3 separate regions of the Homo sapiens genome follow, and all the other regions are linked to region 3. Evidence: promoter capture Hi-C in 16 types of primary human blood cells and fetal thymus (Javierre and others, 2016). All regions are on one chromosome and are shown on one strand. Each heading gives the region's core, a stretch centred on a gene start or on the middle of the fragment in contact. The rest is flanking DNA. Distances are from core to core; before and after follow the strand shown. Region 1 overlaps ATXN7 (ataxin 7). Region 2 overlaps PSMD6 (proteasome 26S subunit, non-ATPase 6). Region 3 holds the start of TMF1 (TATA element modulatory factor 1).

Region 1 (4,331 bases), core at 1-2,500, 5.1 Mb before region 3:
GATTTTTACTTTTGGGGTGAATGAATCACTTCCAGAAACTTGGGGTGGTGCCTCTAAAATATGTACACGGGTTAAAGCTTCTCTCGGTTTGTTTCACTCTCCTCCATTCCCTCGCACACTGATCTCATGTTCTCTCTTTGCTGGACGAATTCAAGTTCCCCAGGCGCACAGTGTGACTTCCAATTGCGGGTCGGGGGCACACATGTGGGCGGCGTGGCGTGCACACGGTACTTCGTCCTGACACCTGGGCAGACACCTGGGAGGCACTTCCCCGCTAGCCCAAGGTTCCCTGCACGCCCGGAGTCCGCTCTGCGGCGGCTTCCCATTCATGCTTTTGACAACTCTGCGGCCGCCCGCAAGCCGAGGGCAAAGTGCCCCCTGCACCAGCCTCTCCCGCGCTGCCCTGGGGCCGGCCGGCCGGCTCCTCCATAGGTGGCTGCATTTCCGACTTCGCCCTGGCTCCAGTCCGGGGGCTTGACGTGCAAACTTCGCCGGAGCGAGCTGAGAGGGAGGGACCGGCAAGTGGGAGGAGGCGGCGGGAGGCGTCTCCGCTTAAGGGAGCCGGCCGGGTGCCGCCGCTCGGACGGACGCGCGGACGGAAGGAAGGAGCGGGGCAGCCGGGCCGGGCCCGGGGATGCAAGCGGCCGAAGGGTGGGCAGCTGGAGGTCCTGGGGTGCGGCTCGGGCTTCCCCGCGCGGGCTGCCATGGTGGGGCGCGGGGTTGGAGCCGGGCCGCTCCGGCGCTGGCCTCCGCGCCAGGTCCTCTGAGCAGAAGCAGGCAGGGGACCCAGCGCCGCGGTGGCGGGCCGCCTGCTGCCCGTCCCCTCCCTCGGGCGGCCGCGGGAGTCGAAAGCGAAAGCTAGCCCGCGCCGCGGACTTTGAGCCCGGGGCGGGGGGTGGCCTTGAGGAGGCGGGCTCGGGGGGCTGGGCGGCCATGGGGGCGCTGTCAGCGTGCCCCACCCGGTCCGCGGGCCGCGCACGCCGCCGGAACTCCCTGGCGCCTCCTTAAAAAACGGCCCCCGCGCGACTCTTTCCCCCTTTTTTTTGTTACATTGTAGGAGCGGAAAGAATGTCGGAGCGGGCCGCGGATGACGTCAGGGGGGAGCCGCGCCGCGCGGCGGCGGCGGCGGGCGGAGCAGCGGCCGCGGCCGCCCGGCAGCAGCAGCAGCAGCAGCAGCAGCAGCAGCCGCCGCCTCCGCAGCCCCAGCGGCAGCAGCACCCGCCACCGCCGCCACGGCGCACACGGCCGGAGGACGGCGGGCCCGGCGCCGCCTCCACCTCGGCCGCCGCAATGGCGACGGTCGGGGAGCGCAGGCCTCTGCCCAGTCCTGAAGTGATGCTGGGACAGTCGTGGAATCTGTGGGTTGAGGCTTCCAAACTTCCTGGGAAGGACGGTGAGTGTCCACGCCCTCCTCCCCCCTTCACCCCCTCGCGACCCCCTCCTCTCTCCTCCCCTCCCCCCTGCCCCCCTCCTGTGACCCGCCCCCTCGAGGGGCAGAGATGCTATCGTTTGCTGGGTTGCGGAACGCGGAGGTGCCCACACCTACCCCGTGCGTGCGTGAGTGTGCGTCACACTCCTGGCCACTGACCTGCCTCTCCCCTCCTCCTGTGTGTGTATATCTCCTAGGGACAGAATTGGACGAAAGTTTCAAGGAGTTTGGGAAAAACCGCGAAGTCATGGGGCTCTGTCGGGAAGGTGAGTCCAGCCCCCCTGATGGAGTTTGTACAAACCCCTGGGAAGTTTCATTGACAGTTCACTGGGACCGGGAACATCAGCCCACCATACCGACTCCCCGACTCCCCGTGCCTGCGAAGATGCTGCCTGAGGAGGGAGGGAGGGGGCAGAGCGCTTGGAAAGTTTGGTTTGGGGGCCTCCTGTAATGAGAGCGTCCGGAATCCTTCTGTGACCAGGCAGGAGCAGCATTATTGGTGATGAGCGCTGGGAACCGGCGGGAAGTTTAACCTAGATCTCTGCATTTCTGACCTCCTTACGGAGAAACAGGAGTAGAGGAAGGAATTCTCAGCTTTGAAACCTTTCCACGAATGCTTAGGGGACATTTTCTGTTGGCAATCGAAACGAATTTTGAACTTAAAGAAGATGCTTTACCTATGCAGTCTTATTTCTGTAGGATTTAAGGTACAAGTTGGGGATGTTAGAAAAAGGTCATCATAACCCGGAGTGCATTTTGGTCAGATTTTTTGCGAGCTGCCAATATCACGGGGGAAAGAAAGCCAGAATTTTATTTGGTCAAATAAGCCTTTACTGCCCGTGGCTGGTGAAATCAGGGTCTAATTATTTGTTAGTTTTAAACTGTTTGGTAAAAAGATACACTAGGGAAATAGGGTATGCCTCCAAATGAAAGTCAGGCCAGGTATCTGGAAAGTGTCAGACTTTTTCTTGAGATTTTCTTTTTCTTTGAATAGTAAGCTTTTGTTGTCTAATACCTGCACTAGGCCTGGGCATACCGTGGTCAGAAAGGACTTCTGAAGTCCAGTGAACTTCGGGTTCAGTTTCAAGTTATTCTTTCAGTGAGTTAGGACAAGGCTTTGAGTGAGGTTTGGCCCCGGAATACTGAGTTTATAGTCCCCGAATGCAATTTTATTTCTCACTCGTAGCCATTTATTTTGCAGAATTGTTGTCTATGGCCCAAGGATAGGTAGAACTTTGGCAACTGGAACATTTTTAAGTCCAAAGTTTGCCCATTGTTACTGTCTTCACATTTCCTTCTCGCTTTTCACACCTGCTTTTTCTTCACTTAACTCTGTTTCGGTTTTTTTGAATTGGGCGCTTTTTGGCCTCTTGGCACTCGGAGGAAGAGTAATACCAGTGACAGCCCGATGAGAGCTTCCAATTGGAACAGATTATAGAACAAATTAGTTGATTTTTAAAATGAGAATTGCTATTTGAGGGTAAAGGAAAGCAAGGGAAAGCACAGGACTTGTTGATGATGTTGCAATATGAAAAATCAGTTGCTAGTCCGGTTTTAGTGCTGAATTGGCAGCCTGCCTGGGCTTAAAAAATTAAAATCACTAGGTGGCAACTCTCACAGTAAGCAGTTAGAGTAGAACTTTAGAGGACCTGACCTACTCTTGTTCTTAGTTTTCATTCTCTGGGTGTGGATACATATCCTATAAAACGTTTCTAAATCTGTGTGAAAACAAGATTGTAATTATCAATAATTCTGCTGTAAAGGATGAGTTAAGTGTATTAATGTTTCAGTGGGTACCTTGAGCTGGACAGGGACCCAACCAAATTAAGGGGACTGTACCTCATTTTTGCTAGATATATTATTTTCTGTTGGGATACTTTTATCAGCATGTTTTTCATGAAGAACTAAGACGTTAAACTACCTACTTGAGGCACAAAAGGGACATGGATCTTGTTAGTGTTTTGTTTTGTTTTTTGAGACGGAGTCTCACTCTGTGGCCATGCTGGAGTGCAGTGGTGCGATCTTGGCTCAGTGCAACCTCCACCTCCTCAGTGCAACCTCCACCTCCCAGGTTCAAGCGATTCTCCTGCCTCAGCCTCCCGAGTAGCTGGGACTGCAGGCGGCGGGCCACCACACCCAGCTAATTTTTTGTGTTTTAGTAGAGAGGAGGTTTCACCACGTTGGCCACGATGGTCTCAATCTCCTAACCTCGTGACCCACCTGCCTCGGCCTCCCAAAGTGCTGGGATTACAGGTGTGAGCCACCGCCTGGCCCTTGTTAGTGTTTTTTAAGGGTTCCCCTCCTCCCCCTTTTAAAGTTGTTCTAACCATTTAGAGGATGCTGTAGCTACCAGGCCACTTGGAACGTACACCTGTCTGAGTTGAGACCGAAGTTTTAAATTCAGTCAGTTCTTCATTTGTTTGTGACTTTGCGGATTATGTGGGGATATTTTAAAATCCAAGTTTGAGGATGTTCAGCACTCACTCAGTGGACCTTTATGTTCTCCTAACAGACCATTGTAGGCTGCTTCAGAAATGAAAATACATTTAATATTATCAAAACTTATTAGACTATTATTCATTCATTGTCTGCTTAAAATTATCAGCTACCAAGAAAAGATGTTTTGAAGTTGAATCCATACTGATTCCTCTTGTTAAATTGAAGAAATATGTAGATAAATTGATCATGTGAGTGAATCACTGGAAGTCAGAAATGACCCTTTATTTATTTTTTTTTTTTTTTGAGACGGTGTCTGACTGTTACCCAGGCTGGAGTGCAGTGGCAAGTTCTCGGCTCACTGCAACCTCTGCTTCCTGGGTTCAAGCGATTCTCTGGACTCATCCTCCCTTGTAGCTGGGATTACAGGCACGCACCACCACACCTGGCTAATTTTTGTATTTTT
Region 2 (4,721 bases), core at 1,512-4,011, 5.0 Mb before region 3:
AATTGGAATTCCAGTATTACTTTCAAAAGCAGAACTGGCCAGAGGAATTGGAATTCCAGTATTATTTTCAAAAGCAGAACTGGCCAGAGGTGCTTGTGATTCCTGGGTGGAAACCATGGCAGTGGACAGAAGCAGCATGGAGGAAAAGAGCACTGGAATTCAGGCTGAGGAACTGTGAAGCCAAGGGTGTTGTATAGGTTGTCCATTTCAAATTAGGGTTGCTTGGTTCTGGGATGATTTGCATGGAAGAGGGGAGAGTGACTTGGAGATGTGTGATTGAGGACAGTGAGCACAGTGAGTTGATGGTGTTGCTGGGTTATAAGCAGCTTCAAAGAGAAGGCATTTTGAATGAAGGTGGAAACATAATGGCCAGGAGAACAAGCAAAGGACTAGGAAACAGTGAACTTCATCTTGGCCTCAAGTTCCTGAGGTGCATATGAATAAACAGTCTCTAACCCAGAGGGTTTCAAGAAAAGCAGAGTCCTCAAAATCCAAAGGTAGAGTTTCCCCACATTGATATTATACTAATTACACGTATAACAGTACTTTGGAAAAGCACAGGTCTCTGGTCACCTCTAAAAGGCAAGGTTGGTAAGGAGGTCAGGGTGTCACCTGTTGGTAGTCTTAACTAAATGGTCTCTTCAAGGGATCTAAGGATGGAAAGGGGATATATAATGGTTGGATTAAAGGCTCATCATTGATTAGCAAATTGTCCCTTTTGTTTCTTAAACCCAATTTGTACAGGGAAAGTTATGCCACTGTAAGATATTTTTAAATGGGGAAAAAAAAAAAAAAAAAAAAAAGGTTATACCCTTTGACCATGTATGTCAAGGTTAAAATGGCCTGGATCAGATTGCTACAAATTCCTGATAGCCTTTGTATTCCTTCAGAAACACAAGCATAATGCAAATCTGTGGCTCTACAGCTTTGAAACCAAAACTAGTGATTATCAGAGCTTTTCATGTTATCCAGATGGGGATTTTACCCCACTCCCCCATTGCCATTGTGGAGGCACAGGTTTGTTACCAGCAACTACAAGTTTATGTAGCATTGGGAAGGTCAGGGATTATCATAGTTCCCTCCACGCTTTTTCCCCCATAATCATGGGGGCAGATATTTCAGCTGTCAGCTGTTCATCTTAAAAACATTAGGTTAACAGCAGCACCAAGGACTAATTCAGAATATGAAATTACAGAAATGATTTGCTAATGATTTAGTAGCCTTTTATCAGTTAATGTTTGGTCAGGTTATAAAAGACCAAATGTGTTCAGTCACAAAATCCTAAGTGTATTGAGTATTGCATGCTTAGTGATCAAGTTGTAGGCATCCTTCTAGCCATCTGGGGCAGGTAAAAGTTGGGTGCTTAACAAAAGTGGTTTTTACACTGTTTCTGTCCTAAGAGACACTGTTTTTTAATAGCTTAAAAATTGACCTAAAGCTGTTATTTCTAATACAGGAAATAGATTACCATAATTTGACATAGCTTTAAAATATTTAGCTCTTACTCGATAGATTTGCTATAAAATCAACTTTTACTGAGGTAAGAGAAACTGGCATTTCTGCTTTAAAAATAATCACAAAAGATAGTTTATCCTGGCGATATCATTTCACACTAGGATAGTTACTTTTGACTGAAACCAGGGTTAAAAATAAGATTGTTTCCCACTTCAAAAGAAAACATTTACCAACATGAAAAAGGAACTATGTATAACTGTTTTAGCATCATTTCATAATCTTATTTTCATATTGTGAAGTAACCTTCTTGAATAAAAGCAGAAAATTAAGACTTTCAGAAAACAAGCTGTACCAGTTAAAGCTACTAGAGACAGGATAAAGGTTAGGAATTCTTTGGATAGTTTCTCCTAGCTCAAGCTTGTCCAACCCAGAGCCCACAACAGCTTTGAATGTGGCCCAACACACATTTGTAAGTTTTCTTAAAACATTATGAGCTGTTTTGTTTTGAGCTCATCAGCTATCCTTAGCGTATTTTGTGTCACCCAAGACAATTCTTCCAGTGTGGCCCAGGGAAGCCAAAAGATGGGACACCCCTGTCTTAGTTGATTAACACAGGAGGCTGTTAACCATCAACCTCACATGCACAATATTGGGGGTAGTGCAGGGATAACAAGCTCAAATGCCAGCAGGGGCCAGGCAGACAGGCAGTGTATATGAACAGACTGGGTGGACTGGGGCACACTGGAAAACACGCTATGCTTGTCGCTCAGCTTATTGGAGCGTGAGTCCAGATTTAGCTTCACCTGTCCTTTTTCCAGAGAAGCTAGATATGTGGTTTTTAAACTGTCAACTTTTACGTGGTAACTATAAATTTTTTTCTTGGAAAAGTATTTAGGGTGTGTCAATTGCCGCCTGTGGGTGAACAACTGCAACTCTGTAGCATTCAGAAGCCACCTTTGCATTCCTGACTAGCTTTGGTTTTCTGTAGAAAACCAAAAAGCTGAGGTTTTTTTCCTTTAAGAAATGTTTTCTAGATAAGCATTTTTAGAAATTCATAGGTGGATATTCTCAAATACATTAGGCATAGTCAGCATTTTAAAAGCCTCCCCTCCACAATACAGTGCCTACAGGAAACTCCTTTCAAAACAGAGATCTAGCCACATTGCTTTCCTTGGCATACAACCAATGGCTCTTCTTCCAGCGATGAGAGCTGCTGTCTTCACTTTTAAGATAATGCTTCTAATATTTTGCCATTAATTACCTTGTGATAGGGCTTTGATATCCCAACCTATTATTCATAGTCTACTGAAGAGTTTTTTTATCATGAAGAAATGTTGAATTATATCAAATTATTTTCAATCAAATGAGATCATGTTAACAGGAGTATGTTATTCCTGTTAGGAATTCCATATTAGGAATATGTTATTCCTAATATGTTAACAGGAATCATTCCCATCAGTAAATGTTATTTAAAGCAAAAAAACTCAAAACTCTTCTTTCCTTCCCTTGCCTTTTACAGTAAAATGCCATTTCCCATTCTCTTCTGAACTCACCTCTACCAAAACTGCTCATTAAGGTCACTAGCTGTCTTTCACTTAAGCCAAAAAGCCTAGGATCTCCTCTGACAAATTTTCTCCCCCTCATCCTCCTCACCCCATTCTTCAATCTTTTAGCAAATCCAGCTGCCTGTACAATCCATGCCACCGAATGCCGTAAGTGAGACGTAAAAGGTAAGCCAAATCCGCACTTAAAATTGCCAGTGACTTTCCTCGTCTTTCTTCCCTCCATACGTTCATGGGCTCTCCCTCCTTTTCACTTAAATGTCACCTTACCATAGAAGCCTTCCACAACACCTCAGAAGACGGCCTATACCCTGTATCTCTATCTATCTATCTATCTATCTGTCTGTCTATCTGGTTTTATACTTCTTATAGCACTTATTCCTATCTGACACACTGAATAAAACTGATAAAACTAATAAACTGTTTCAAACAAACAGAGGAACAACTTTGTTTTCCTCACTGCTATTATTACTATGGTCCTACTTTTGGAAAAAAGATTCAGTTTGCTAATAAATACTTACATATAAGGTTTTAGAAAACTGAGATCAGCCTTGGTAGATTCTGTAATCCAGGTTATGTCAGCTTCCTAAAAAAGAGTAACTTCCTGCCTTATATGGTTACTTGTTTCTGAGGGAAAGCTTATTACACATTTTCTTTATCTTCTATCTTTTGTATACTAAAAGTGGGAGACACTGTTTGTTTAATTTTAGGCCACTACTCTTCTTTCTAAAATCGGGAAGCTTACAGGTAAGAGATTTAAAGGTAAGCGATAATGGGCTGTGTCAACATCCGTATTTTACTGACGTATTTTACTGATGAGGCAGTCAGGAGCTGAACCTAGCTGAACCCAGCTGCAACCTTACCCTATAAACCAGATTTTCATTAATGAATAATTCAAGTGACATTATTTTAACATAAGTGGACCCGATTCTAGAAGGCCTATGTGTTTAAGAAAAAAATAAATGGAAAGAAACAACAATGCAGTATTTATTTTATACAGCTGACCTGGGCACATTGTGAAGTAAGCTATAAAAATTCCAAATAATTATCTCTAAAGCAAATCCTTTGTTAGTTACATGGCTTTACATATTAATTACTCTGGAAAGTTTTTGAACTCTGTTTAGTAGCAGATCTCCTTTCTTGATAGTTTCTTGGTACTGCCAGTTCTTGCTATCAGGTCTATAAATAAATTCAAGAAAAAATGAATTATTTACCAGTCACATTATTCCATGACAATAGTTGACCTACTTTTAAAATTTAGGAATGCCCCTTATTCTGAGAAATGAGAGTACCTGTTGGTTTCTACTATTTCATTCACTTTATCTATTTTGCAGTGTAGTCTCCCGGCAGCAATAAACCTGGACAGTTCCCTAATTTAGAGACAAAAAATAACAGAATTAGCTTTATAGAAAATTCTTAGAAAAATGCAAACGGCATTAAAATACTGTCTTAAATTTGTAACAAACATTTAGCTTCCCTTCAAGCTTGTTATTGCACATGCAGTAGTTGACGTTGTCCCTCCTATACTGCAGGCTTTAAGTCATCATCTACTAGAATAAACATGATCCTAGAAGTTCATATTCAGATAGATAGAAAGTAGATCAAACAATGAAACCATATGTACTCAGAGAAAAACTGTAGGTTAGGAAAAATTAGGGACCAAAACTGATAAAAACAGTAAACTGTTTCAAACAAAAGACCTAA
Region 3 (4,396 bases), core at 318-2,817:
GGTCCTGACTTTTCAATGATGTAAAATTAAGAACAGAAACCAGAAAGGAGTAGTCAAGTACATCTCTTATCCTTTTTCACACAAAGGTTCACATCCCCCAACACCAGCAAATCTTTACCCCACACATCAAATGCTGAACTGTTCCTTAGACTTAAGAGTCAAAAGCAACTGAATGAAGATCCCTGAAAGATTAAGCTCAATGAAACTGCAAAGAGAGACTTGGCTATTCAGAAATAAAATGTGATACCATCCAGAAATCTTGGGTCACACATTTTCCGGCTAATACCTCCGGCACATTCTAATCCTCCTCCGCCGTGTGACCTAGAGCAAGTTACTTGGCCATTCTGGGCCTCATTTTCCTCTTATGTAAAACACGGATATAAACCAAGCTCTCTCTGGGAGTTGTTCTGAAGATGAGAAGGCCATAAAAAAGCACATTACAGGCTCGTGCCTGTAATCCCAGCACTTTAGGAGGCCGAGGTGGGTGGATCGCCTTAAGTCAGGAGTTCCACCAGCCTGGCCAACATAGTGAAACCCCGTCCCTACTAAAAATACAAAAAGTTGCCGGGCGTGGTGGTGGGCGCCTGTAATCCCAGCTACTAGGGAGGCTGGGGAAGGAGAATCGCTAGAACCTGGGAGGCGGAGGTTGCAGTGAGCCGAGATCGCGCCACTGCACTCCAGCCTGGGCGACGGAGTGAGACTCCGTCTCAACAACAACATAAAACCACATTACGCGCTACCAAGCGCGAAATGTTCACTGACTGTTAGCGATTGTTCTTCCCTTCCCTGATGATTTACGTACTTCAGACCTTGGATCCCAACAGTGCCCGAGACGCGAAGCAATTCGAGGTTCAGGTTCGGGAAGGTTGTGCTTGGAAGCTGCGTCGAGGGAGAGCTTGAGGGCAAGACCAACCAACCAAGTCCCCTGTCATCCAAGTCCACAAGCCTCGCACCCAGGACCAAAGAAAGACAAGGGGGAACCTGGATCTGGGTTTTCCCTCAGGAAAACAGCAAAGACCGACTTGGAGGCTGAAGCAGCATTAGGGAACGGGCCGGGGAGAAATTACTTCCTGAAAACTCTCTCAGCAAGGAAGGACCCCTCTCTACACCACTTAACCTGCCTGCATCAAGAGAACAGCAGCCTCCGGGAGCCAGGAACCCCGCTCCTCTCTCTCTTACCCGGCTCTCCATACGGAATGGTCTCGGCCCAGATGCTCGGCTCCTCTTCCTGGATGTCCAGAACCCTGTCAATAGACTTCTGGGCCTGGGACAGGGCCTGCTTAGCGAAGCTGGAGAGCTGGGAGGCGTTGAACCAACTCATCGCCCCTCCTCAGCCGGCAGTGGCGGCGGCAGCACCAAGCGGGAAGGCCTCAGGCCTGGGGAAGGGTGCAGAGGAACGGCTTCGCTCCCCTTTTCCACTCGGCTGGTTCTGTCAGCGTGTGGCCATTACCCCGACAGCCTCCCGCGAGCCCGGGATGTTACCCTCGGCCGTTCCCGCACAGCTGAGACGAAGGGGGCCCATGTGCGCATGCGCTTGCTTCTTCCACGTACACAGCAACCAAATCTACGAGCCCAGAGTTCGGTCGACAGACGGAAGAACAGAAGAACGTTGACGTCACATCCGGGAGCGCAGGGTTGCCGTTAGTTACCGAGGAACGCGGAAGGGTTTCTATTGATGTCGATTTCGTGCTTACAGCAGTTCTTAGCGAAGGGGAAGCTATGGCTACCGATAGAGGTCGATTTCCCCGGAAGGAATATTCAAGTTTTCGTGTGTGTGCTTTCCAGGAAAATAGTTCACGTGCTAAAAGCTTGCACCTTGCCAGCAATAATTGCAAAGGGAAATTGGGCCTCACACTTCTCTTAGCCCTTTGTCTCAAATATTTAATAAGCTCTGTATTAACTTGGTATTGTAAGGAGAAACACTTGTTTGGGCTTGCCTAAAAGACAGGATCACGTATGAACACTGTGTCCAACTCGTGGAACACATGGTGCATAAAGCACAACCTCTCTCTCAAAATAGTAGTAAACTCATTGCTGCAGTCAAAATACCCCTAATACTGTGGTCTGTCGGTGTCCCCTGCACAAATTCCTATGTTGAAACCTAATCTCCAATGGGACAGTATTAAGGGGAGCCTTTAGGAGATGATTAGATGATGATGGAGCCCTCATAAATGGGGTTAGTGCCCTTATAAGAGAGGCCCAAGGGAGCTCACGGCAAGAAGGCACCAACTCTAAGCCAGAATAGCAGCCCTCACCAGACACCAAATCTGCCGGCTCCTTATCTTGGACTTCTCAGCCTCTAGAACTGTTAAGAAACAAATTGCTACTGCTTATAAGCCACCCAGTTTATGGCAATTTGTTACAGCAGTCCAAATGGACTAAGACACCTAGGAAGCACTAAAGCTGTTATCCTAACAATGTGCACTGTGCATATTACTTAAAACATAACCTTTTCTGTGTGCATTCTCTTCGAACATTTGGACATGGGAAAATACCTTAAATTGGTGGCCTTCCTAATCCAGTCTGCAGCTATATTTGGTTTGGGCCCAAGTTAAAGACAAAATCCTAACTAAAAGCCAGATTTCATTCAAAAATCTAGATTTCCAGCTGCTTTTGAAAAATATGAATACCAAGCATGGGAATAGTCAGCCAGAGTGGTCACCAAATAATTTTCACTCACTCCAGTTTGCCACAGACCCCTATCACTCATCCTATTACACCCTCCCTGCTGTGATTATTTACCTTATATGCCTGCCTCCCATATTTGAATATTTTACCCCACTGCAAGGAACTCTGCAAAAAAGAATTATTTTTCTTTTAAAAAATCAGATTGAACCCCTTAAGAAGTTATAATCATCTTCCAATAATTTTATCTAACTACAGTAAAAACTTGCATGTTAAAACTAACAATTTAGTCATGTACACAAGTAGTACCAAGTAACTCAAGTACTTTCAAACAGCTAAGTAGTCTGCAGAGGAGATTTGGGGCAGATTCGGGTTGAAATTAGCTGTACAGTTACAGTTCCAAGACTTCTAATTGTACAGCTTTGGTGAAATGACCTACCTAAACCATCTAAAACTATTTATTCAGCTCTCAGATAGAGTCACCTTCTTACAATGCTACTTTGAGAATTATTATAGCACCTATATGGTGCTAAATTTTAGTTCCTTCACTTTCAAAATTGTAAGCTACACCTGTAACTTTTCAGGTAGAGCTTATAAATTTATTCCGTATGGTTTTATAATAAAACTTATTTGTCAATATGTAGCTAGAAAGATTACTGAAAACTTAACTCAGTGACACATAAGTAACCAAAAAACATTTGAACAGAAAACTGCCATATCTAAGTCAAAAACAAAGAATGAGAACACATACATGTTCTCATATTAAAATACTAGCACCTACTTTTTTAGTATTTGTACTTAATTTTGTTTGAAGTTTTATTCACTTAAAAGAAACAAAAACATGGTCAGGCATGGTGGCTCATGCCTGTAATCCCAGCACTTTGGGAAGCCGAGGGGGGCGGGGGGGGGTGGATCACCTGAGGTCAGGAGTTTGAGACCAGCCTGGCCAACGTGGTGAAACCCCGTCCCTACTAAAAATACAAAAAATTAGCCGTGCATGGTGGCAGGCGCCTGTAATCCCAGTTACTCCGGAGGCTGAGGCAGGAGAATTGCCTGAACCGGGGAGGCAGAGGTTGCAGTGAGCTGAGGTTGCATCATCGCACTCCAGCCTGGGCAACAAGAGCGAAACTCTGTCGCAAAAAAAAAAAAAAAAAAAATTATATTGATACAGAAAGTTAAATTAAACCAGTAAATTTTTACTATAGAAATTGCTGTAGCAAAAGTATTAAGTGCAATAAAAATTTGATATAACTCTGCTACACATTTAAAAATTATTCCTATATTACCATGGAACTACTGATTACCCTTAATGTACTTTTAAAAACTTCAGTGAAAGAAGTACACAATATATGATTTTATTAATAAATAGTGCAAAAGCATCAGTGATAACTGTTTGAACATTAAATTTTTTAAACAGCCATGTCTTGGCATTAGTTAATATTGTGCATATTGGCCTCTATGGCACTACAAGTAAACAGATGAAAATATTGCCCATTTTCATGCACAGGTATTCAGCTATAACACCATTTACAAATCATTATGAACAAGATAAATTCTGCAATAATATTCATTTGGATGGCCACAATTAAATGAGTGTTATATCAAGAAATAGCCTATGTTCAATATACTCCAGATGTCAGATTGTAAAATGTAATGTTATTTAAAACTTAATTCTTTATTTTCCTTAAAGGGACACCTTTTGTGTATTTGGGTACTCAAATGAAAACTTAGGAATGCATTCTTTGACCATAATAACAAAATTCACACAAAA

The links. Contacts are between HindIII fragments. The CHiCAGO score rates a contact against its expected background, and 5 or more counts as called.
Region 1: a contact is called between a fragment that was not itself captured here and the fragment with the promoter of TMF1 in region 3, in 4 of 17 cell types (non-activated CD4 T cells, activated CD4 T cells, naive B cells and 1 more). The highest score is 13.4, in non-activated CD4 T cells.
Region 2: a contact is called between a fragment that was not itself captured here and the fragment with the promoter of TMF1 in region 3, in 1 of 17 cell types (total CD8 T cells). The highest score is 8.3, in total CD8 T cells.

The regions. Positions count from the first base shown.
Region 1 is chr3:63,911,531-63,915,861 of GRCh38, forward strand. It overlaps ATXN7 (ataxin 7), which reads left to right. Exons shown (of 13, transcript NM_001377405.1): 3 at 1,058-1,393; 4 at 1,627-1,695. The coding sequence starts at 1,069. It also overlaps SCAANT1. Among named protein-coding and RNA genes, the nearest start is that of ATXN7, 50 kb to the left of the region's middle. RefSeq lists an enhancer at 122-201 and a silencer at 532-1,371. The HindIII fragment of the contact is 2,350 bases long and covers 76-2,425 here.
Region 2 is chr3:64,006,569-64,011,289 of GRCh38, forward strand. It overlaps PSMD6 (proteasome 26S subunit, non-ATPase 6), which reads right to left. Exons shown (of 8, transcript NM_014814.3): 7 at 4,310-4,387; 8 at 3,983-4,196. The coding sequence ends at 4,100. It overlaps PSMD6-AS2 (PSMD6 antisense RNA 2), which reads left to right. Exons shown (of 3, transcript NR_038286.1): 2 at 3,129-3,185. Among named protein-coding and RNA genes, the nearest start is that of PSMD6-AS1, 3.0 kb to the right of the region's middle. The HindIII fragment of the contact is 1,783 bases long and covers 1,871-3,653 here.
Region 3 is chr3:69,050,766-69,055,161 of GRCh38, forward strand. It overlaps TMF1 (TATA element modulatory factor 1), which reads right to left and starts at 1,568. Exons shown (of 17, transcript NM_007114.3): 1 at 1,180-1,568. The coding sequence starts at 1,321. UBA3 (ubiquitin like modifier activating enzyme 3) reads right to left here. Exons shown (of 18, transcript NM_003968.4): 18 at 3,965-4,396. RefSeq lists an enhancer at 1,160-1,629. The HindIII fragment of the contact is 2,649 bases long and covers 1-1,806 here.